2 separate regions of the Homo sapiens genome follow, and region 1 is linked to region 2. The links are contacts of gene promoters, found by promoter capture Hi-C in blood cells and fetal thymus (Javierre and others, 2016). All regions are on one chromosome and are shown on one strand. Each heading gives the region's core, a stretch centred on a gene start or on the middle of the fragment in contact. The rest is flanking DNA. Distances are from core to core; before and after follow the strand shown.

Region 1 (4,580 bases), core at 1,367-3,866, 1.3 Mb after region 2:
CCTGGTTTTTAAGAATCCTTATATACCCTGAACACGTGCTTTTTGATGGTTACACATGTTACAAAATCTTCTATGTTCTTGCTTATCTTCCCTTCTCTTTGTCTTTGATGAATGTTCAGTCTTCATATTCTAGGATTTTTCAGTGTTGGTTTAAGATGATCCAAGTGACCTTTAAAAACTCTAATTTGTTTCCTTGCCTGAATGAACCAATATTTAAATATGCTAATTGTAGTCCTGAATTACTTGATTGCTGAGAGCTTGGCAGACCTTCTCTTCAAGGCAATAGCAGTCCCAATGACATACATTTGAAGAGCACTTTTATCATTTTCACAATTAGGTCCTCCATACAGCCTGGAATTTTTAAGTCATTATGATTCTATTTGGCTCTCCAACAAATAGATCCTGCAGTATATATTATCTTGTTTTCTATAATTCCCAACTGTGTGCCATCCTGTGCCACCTTATGGTGCTGTTATATATATATATGAGGTTCATGTGGCATATGTCCCATCTTCCCAACTGGGCTGAAAGCTCCTTGACATCAGAGGATCCATAAATGCATCTTTATATCTCCCATGGTGCTTTGTATCAAATAAGCATGAGAAAGGGGATAATATTCAGGGTCTCTGAATATTTAACCCTTCAAAAGAAAAAAAAAACTAGTTTTAAAAGACATGAGATGCTTGGATATTATTTTAAGGATTAAATTGGTTGTTGCAGTGCTAATGTAGAATTGATGATTATCCAAACCACATTTCAATGAATAAGTATAATTACCTGCCCTTTCCAAACCTTGCTAATGAACATCCCACTTGACTTCCACATCCTTGTCTATTCTACGGAATGGCCCCTGGTAGAGATATTGATGGAAGCCAAGGGGGAGCACAGATAATTCAGAACATGGATAAACTACTTTGTCTTTCTTCTTGAATGTCACAAATTCAATATATATTTATGTTCATTTGCTTCTCAGGTAGAAATGAGTCCTCTGGAAAATGCAATTGAAGTGCTAGAAAATAAGAATCAGCAGCTGAAGACTCTGATTAGTCAGTGTCAGACAAGACAGATGCAGAATATTAATCCCCTGACTATGTGCCTGAATGGAGTTATAGATGCTGCAGTTAATGGTGGCGTTTCCAGGTATCAAGAGGTAAGGATTAGGTATTGTTGTTTCAGAGAAAGTTTTCAATTGTGACTTCTTAGGGTTTCATGAATCTTTTTTCAGACTATGTACCCATATCAGCACGCAAACATAGGGCTGCGATTGACACAGAGTCCTTTGTTAAATAGAGCAAACATACAGTCATTTGTAATTGCCCAGTAACTCCATTTTCCCAACATGTTATATTTGGATAATAAAAATGTGTGTGTGTGTGTTCATTCTTGCATGAATAAAAGTAGAAAGGACATTAGGACTGTTTAATAAATATCCGTCTAAAATAATTTCTCTAAGCAAAGAAGTTCATGGGCATAGAAAAGTCTGATCTGGGCTGGGCTCAGTGGCTCACACCTGTAATCCCAGCACTTTGGTTTGAGACCAGCTTGAGCAACATAGGAAGATCTTATCTCTTATTTAAAAAAAAAAAAAAAAAAAAAAAAAAAGATAAGACCGATCTTGCTTAGATGATACTTTAAGTGGACCTTTCATCTGCTCTCTTAAACAGAAAGATATAATACCCTGGAAGGTAAGGCCACCATCTAGGTCACACTGAATCTTAAGGCAGTTTGTTTTAGGATACAAGCCATATAGCTTACTGATTTGGGCTTGTTCTTTATTTTAGCAAGGGTACTTATTGTACAATCACTGATCTTCCTTTAACAATTCTTTCCTTATGTTCCCATTCTGACCAACCACCTACACTAGTAATCAGCCCATCTGTCCCAAAATGTGGTTTGTAATGGTGTCATTTCCATAAAGATGCCAGGTCTTTAAAAACAACTTGTCTTTGACTTGCCTTGTACTCCACTAAAGTAGACTGATTCTCCTTTCCCTTACTAGGCATTCTTTGTCAAAGAATATATCTTAAGTCACCCTGAAGATGGGGAGAAAATTGCACGATTAAGAGAGCTGATGCTTGAGCAGGTAAGGGAAGCAGAAGCCAACCCCCTTCTATTTTGCCTGGATATGTGCTTGCTTACCTAGAGCCCCCTCTGCATGGTTTCCTGCATCAGTGGTCTAACAGAAGCTGGCAAGCAAGGGTGACAGATTCCTGTAATATATCCCAGCTTGCTAATTTCTACTTCTTCTTCCCACTCCGATGCAAAAATTAATTTAACAATGAGTAGACTATGGCAGCCAGTTACAGGTTGAGTATCCTTTATCCAAAATACTTGGGACCATAAGTGTTTCAGATTTTGAAATATTTGCATATACATAAGAGATATCTTGGGGGAGGGACCCAAGTCAAATAACAAAATTTATTATTTCATATATATCTTATACACATAGCCTGAAGGTCATTTTATATAATATTTTAATAATTTTGTGCATGAAGTTTCGACTGCAACCCATCACGTGAGGTTGGGTGTGGAATTTTCCACTTGTGGGATGTTGGCATTCAAAAGGCTTCAAATTTTGGAGGATTTCTGATTTTCAGTTTTTGTATTAGGGATGTTCAACCTGTGAAACAAACAACTTCATGTGGTCTCTTAAAACATTCTTTGAATGTTCTCTTCCTAGAGACTTGCTGTAGGCTTGATGCCAACTTTTTTTTTTTTTTTTTTTTTTTTTTTAAGACGGAGTCTCCCTCTGTCACCCAGGCTGGAGTGCAGTGGCATGATCTCTGCTCACTGCAAGCTCCGCCTCCTGGGTTCACGCCATTCTCCTGCCTCAGCCTCCCAAGTAGCTGGGACCACAAGTGCCCGCCACCACACCTGGCTAATTTTTTTTGCATTTTTAGTAGAGACGGGGTTTCACTGTGTTAGCCAGGATGGTCTCGATCTCCTGACCTTGTGATCCACCCGCCTCAGCCTCCCAAAGTGCTGGGATTACAGGCGTGAGCCACCGCGCCTGGCCGATGCCAACTTTTCACTCAAAATTCTGTGCTCAGAAAAGTTCAGGCCAACTCCAAATATGAGGCATGAATGAAATTTTTACTTAAGCATTGTAATAAGGAAGTGGGCAATCAGTAGATCTTGCTTTAAAGCAGTGTCATATTTTGCAAAGTAAACCTATAGGTTACATGATATGGACAAAACTACATACAACTCATCATTTTCTACCCCCAGAGAAGCGTGGTTTATTTATTTGGAACCATCAAGTACAAAGAACTGGAATGAGTAATCTGTTGCCTACTGTGTCCCTATTGATAGCCTGAAATGGTTTGAAAACCTCTGAGGTAGGAGACATGGTTGGAAGCCTGTGTTAAACAGGAAATAAAGACATTTGCTTCCTGTGAAAAGTGGAATATGTGTGATGAAACATGACAAAGGCATTTCTTTCTACCCAATAATGCCAAATTAATAAGTAAAGCATGCTCTTTGGATTAGAAAATGAGGTCGTGTCTGGTTTTCATCCATCTTTTATGCTCTGTAGGCTTAGTCCACAAAACCTAATACTACAGGGAGAGAGGTGGCCACAGAAGAGAGAGAAGAATTACTTGAAGCTGATCTGTAAGGAAATAAAGAATAAGTCAAGTTCTCAATGTGACTCTGGGTGTTTGTAGATACTAGAAGTGAGCAGTTGAGGTCATCCATTACTTAGGATTATGCAATGACTTTAACCTTCATTGATTTTTAAAGATCTGTGTTTTACCTCTTATGAATGGTTCACTCCACCCCAGGACTGTATCTGCTGGATTCAGCCTGACTGAATTATTTCCCCAGAATTAAATGGTAGCTCAGGGTCAAGAAGACTGCCAAGAAAAATAAAACCAGGGAACCTTTATTTCTTCTACGTCCTGCTTATGTTCCTGAAACCTTGTGGAAAGAGCCATGGCCTAGAAAATGTGAGATCTCTGTTATAAGACAAGCAGTGCACGTGACTGTCAATGTGCCCTTGGCCAAGTCTCATCATCTCTGTGGGGAGGTGGACTGGAGAGGGCACCATCCTTCTCTGGACCTCTGCAAAGTAGTTCAGATAAACTCTCTAGAGGACAGAGACATGCACCACCCCAGTGCTCCTTCCAGGACAGACTTACTCTGCCTCAGCTGCAGGAAATGTGGCTCTCAACAGACATCTCCAGCTGTCAGGCCCTTCAGGGATTGCCTCCACTGCAGAGAGCCACTTGGCCCAAGGTTGCTACCTTCTCAGTGGTGCACATCCCATACTGAGGAAGCAATAGAAAGCCTGGCCATTTGGGACCAACACAGGACAACTTTGACAGACCATTAAAGGTCCAGAGGTTGAGGTAGGAGTATCATCTGACACCAGGAGTTCAAGACTAGCCTGGGCAACATAGCAAGACCCCATCTCTACAAAAACCTAAAAACTAGCTGGGTGTGGTGGTGCATGCCTGTAGGCCCAGCTACTTGGGAGGCTGAGGTGGGAGGATCACCTTAGCCCAGGAGTTCGAGGTTGCAGTGAGCTATGATCACACCACTGCATTCCTTCCTGGGCAGCAGAGTGAGACTCTGTCTCT
Region 2 (4,510 bases), core at 1,954-4,453:
GCTACCTGACTTCAAACTATACTACAAGGCTACAGTAACCAAAACAGCATGGTACTGGTACCAAAACAGAGATATAGATCAATGGAACAGAACAGACGCCTCAGAAATAACGCCGCATATCTACAACTATCTGATCTTTGACAAACCTAAGAAAAACAAGCAATGGGAAAAGGATTCTCTATTTAATAAATGGTGCTGGGAAAACTGACCAGCCATATGTAGAAAGCTGAAACTGGATCCCTTCCTTACACCTTATACAAAAATTAATTCAAGATGGATTAAAGACTTAAACGTTAGACCGAAAACCATAAAAACCCTAGAAGAAAACCTAGGCAATACCATTCAGGACATAGGCATGGGCAAGGACTTCATGTCTAAAACACCAAAAGCAATGGCAACAAAAGCCAAAATTGACAAATGGGATCTAGTTAAACTAAAGAGCTTCTGCACAGCAAAAGACACTACCATCAGAGTGAACAGGCAACCTACAAAATGGGAGAAAATTTTCGCAACCTACTCATCTGACAAAGGGCTAATATCCAGAATCTACAATGAGCTCAAACAAATTTACAAGAAAAAAACAAACAACCCCATCAAAAAGATAGTTAAAGTTTTAAAGAAAACTTTAAAAAGGCTCTTTTTCATATACAACTTTAAATTTTGGTAACAGTTGAGAGCACCAAAGACACACGTTTTATGCTTTAAGCAGAAGACATGTCATTTGAAATGAATTACTAAAAATCTTTTATTTAGAATGTTTATTCTAGTCTATTATTCTCTGCAATTACCAAGTGTTATTTCCTGACACACACTTTCATGTAAACAATGCACAGAAAAAAACACTGTTTTTGCTGATCATGATACTATGCATCAGTTGGCAAAAATCTGAAATAGATTAATTTTGAAAGCAAGGTCATTGGTTTTTAAAATAAAATGGTATGTACTTTTTATAAGAACCAAATTAAGCAAATTATATCAGTTTTCCTAATACACTGATCAATATAGTACATGTAATATTCCAACAGTTTGTAAATCTTCAGAACCCTTCAAACCCAAGGATTAGAGCATATAGTTTTGTTGTATTTGCTTTGTTCTTTTACTCTTAACCTGAAAATCAAATTTTCTGGGTTTGGTGATGTAGGGGATAAAAAAAAAAGAAATTAGTTAAGACCAACTAAGCCTATGATCTAAACAATTTGAAGCAATAACTTTACATTTGAGAACTTGTAGATGATATGAAACTTTTGTCAGCTATTAAACATATTTTTTAAAGCCCTGCTGATGAAAGATGTAGCTTCCAATGTTTTCTCCAGTAGAGTTAATGAGCTAGATAGAAAATATCTCATTAATTTCTTGAGTCCCCTTGTGAGGCAAGAAAATGACATTCTTATCCAACAGCTGGAAAAGCTGAAGAATTAGTGGATGTAACTGTGCTCAACTGCAAAGGAAAAAAATAGCTTTACTATACCCTGAGATGTGGATATGAAAGAATATTGCATACACATATACCCTCTCCCTTATTTTTAAGGAATCAATATCTGCTTAAAGAATAAGACTAGTTAAAACCCTTGGATCTTGGCCCTATAACTTTTGGCAGAGTATATTACTGCTTCATGGCCTGGCAGTGCAGTGACTCTTTTAATTTACTTTAAAATAGCTTTTCCCTAATCTGTACAACCTAACATCTGACCAATCATGAATCTTCAGCAAACTTAAGCCTCTTATTCCATACATTTTTTAAAACTGTAAAAATTCAGGAAATAACTCTTTGCAAAGTACATTGAAGCATTTATTGGGAAGCAAAAAAGCACAAGTTGAAGTGATTTGTAGTTTCATAAAAACGAATTTGACATTTTACTTAGAAGTTGCAAACCACCACATGGTTTTGAGTTTTGAATTCATTTGCTTTGCAAAAAGTGGAATGTTTTATTTGAATGGAAATGCCCTCAAGTTACTTCCAGCATGGCTGTAGGATTGATTTTTCTAGGTTAAGGGAATGCCAAAGTTTAGTGCCTTGTGTATATTCTTTTCGAAAAAAACAAACTATTATCCATGTATTTAAATGGACGTAGGAAATTCAAGAACAAATCAGGGAAATTTAACATCATTTCAGTATTACCAACATAGGGCTTTGTGTAACGACTGTGACATCAAGATAAGGCTTTACCTCGGCTCATCCAATAGAAATACAGTATGTAAATTAACCCATATTATCTGTATGCTGATTGGCCTGAGTTCCCCTGAATGTCACAATCTCACCACCCAGCAATGAGGTATTTTACTGCTGTCTCAAGATCAGATTATTACTGTAGAGAAGATTTTTATTTTTTGTTTCATTAACAGATTATTATAAAGCAAAAAGCATGCAGAAAAAGAAGCAGACGTTTTACATTGGGAATTAATGAAAGCGTGTCTGCTAGTTTTGGGTAGGAGAACTGGGAAGTTGTTGCTTAAAATTTTATATCACCTCCACAAACAAAACTCTTCGGAAATGGTAAAATAAGAAAATGCATGATTCTAGAGGCATTCCTAAGCACCCACGTGTCAGGCTTTGTGGTGTCTGTGGTATCATCCGACCGTTTGGACTGGTGTAAGTTTTACGTATTTGTTATATTTCTAGTATTTTTCATCTGTAATAACAAAGGGGAAAAAAGGAAACTCGTACACATAACTGCTTTGACATCACCCATCATTGGTCAGCGGAACTTGTAAGAAGGGAAAAGGAATACTGTTGCTTGGTGGGGTGGAATGCCAGGAATAGCCATTTAAACATTTTATAAGCCTGATTCTTTAGTGACATCCTTTAAGGTAGACTGAATGTAAATCATATTGTAGTTGTCCTCTGAACTTAGCTTTCTCCCTACTTTTACGCATATTTGCGTGCATTGGAGAATAGAAGATGACTAACAAAGAGAGAGCTGCCCTAACGTGCCTTCCCTTCTTCCCCATTGAAAAGATTTTTAACTGTGGGAAAAAGATAAATAAATAAATAAATAACTTTTTTTCTTTTTTCCCATTCTTTTCTTGTCTTTTTCCAGCTAACCTGCAAATTTAAAGGTTAGCTGGAGACATCACTTAAAAATAAATATATAAAAGAAGCCTCCGGTGGTTTGGACCACCCTAAAAGAAAAGGGAAGAAAGTGTCTGGGGAAGGTTAGGGTTCCGGGAAGCTGAGGGAGGGGGCGGGCGTCACGGGCACTGTGACTTCCTCGTGCGCTGCCTTTGGGAAGAGGATGGGCCTGAGGTCCTGAAAGGGCCTTTCCAGCCCCCCACTACAAATGCGGGGAGGGAAAAGTTCAGAAGCAGCCACGAAGGGACAAAAGCTTAATGCTGCCAGTTGGATTGGACAGGGCAGTCAATAAACCCAGCCAGCTCTGGAGTCAGGTAGGGGTTCCTGCTGGTTCCACAGAGGCTGAAGCAGCCCCGCCGCCGCCCTCGCCACCGCAGCCGCCGCCGCCGCGGCCCCTGCGTTACTGGGGGAGACGGTGCCGCTGCGACAGGGGAGGACGCGGCTGGAGCTCAAGGAGGCTCCAGCGCGCAGGCGCCGCCGAGCCCTGCCTGGATGCTCAGTCAAGGCACTAAGGCAAAAAAAAAAAAAAAAAAAACAAAAAACAAAAAAAAAAAAAAAAAAAAGAAAAAGAAAAAAAGAAAAAAATCAGCAATTTATAGAAAGAAGCTATAGTCTGTCGGGATATCCAACACCAACAGGTAGGAGGATATACTCTTGGTTAAGTTTGGGGGATGTGGGGGAATGCACAGTGTTGATGAAACTGCAGGTTCACCGAGAAAGAGCCCTCCCTCAGGTTGTGTGTGTGTGTGTGTGTGTGTGTGTCTCTGTGTGTGTGTGTGTGTGTGTGTGTGTATGTGTTTTGTGACAATAAACTGCATAATGGAAGTACATTCAGACAATGCATCTTCAGTAGGGCTTACTGAGAGCTCCATTTCTGGAAAGCCTTACAAGACTGAGGAATATCAGACTGCGAATCACCGGGAACGGTTCCTTTGCAGCACAGAAGCAATCTCTCTCCCCATCTTCGCGTATGTAATGCATGTCTCTCTCCCTCTCCCCCTCCTCCACCCTCCCCCCATTATAAATCCAGGGGTGGCGGATTTCAGGTTTCGTAATGTTGCATGATGCGATCGGTATTTACCCGAGGATGTACCGGTGGGGAAATTAAAATCATCGAACGCAGTTTTGCCTGGGCTTCCACCAGCATATTCCGGGCCAGTGAGAAGTGGCAAAAGAAACACGCTTGGTGGGAATAACAGAGGAAGCCGATTTCCCTGGTGTGGTCCAGGCACCTGCGAGACAATGTGCATTTTGTTTTAAAAAGCAGCCACTTGTGATTTGCAACAAAGGTTATCAGTGTAAATGGGAAAGGCTTAATTGCCCAAGAAATACAGGTTCATGTTATATTCATTTGAATCCAGGCAGCCAAGGTTTACAAATGGAAGTGCATTATTCCTCTGGGTGTGTTTCCCTGTCCAATATTTACATTAACCATTTTAA

Evidence for each region. Contacts are between HindIII fragments. The CHiCAGO score rates a contact against its expected background, and 5 or more counts as called.
Region 1: a contact is called between a fragment that was not itself captured here and the fragment with the promoter of GPR85 in region 2, in 1 of 17 cell types (neutrophils). The highest score is 5.3, in neutrophils.

The regions. Positions count from the first base shown.
Region 1 is chr7:111,743,837-111,748,416 of GRCh38, reverse strand. DOCK4 (dedicator of cytokinesis 4) reads left to right here. Exons shown (of 53, transcript NM_001363540.2): 43 at 974-1,150; 44 at 2,000-2,083. Among named protein-coding and RNA genes, the nearest start is that of DOCK4-AS1, 62 kb to the left of the region's middle. The HindIII fragment of the contact is 9,288 bases long and covers 1-4,580 here.
Region 2 is chr7:113,085,520-113,090,029 of GRCh38, reverse strand. It overlaps GPR85 (G protein-coupled receptor 85), which reads left to right and starts at 3,203. Exons shown (of 3, transcript NM_001146267.2): 1 at 3,203-3,708; 2 at 3,921-4,038. RefSeq lists a silencer at 3,458-3,517. The HindIII fragment of the contact is 6,967 bases long and covers 1-3,325 here.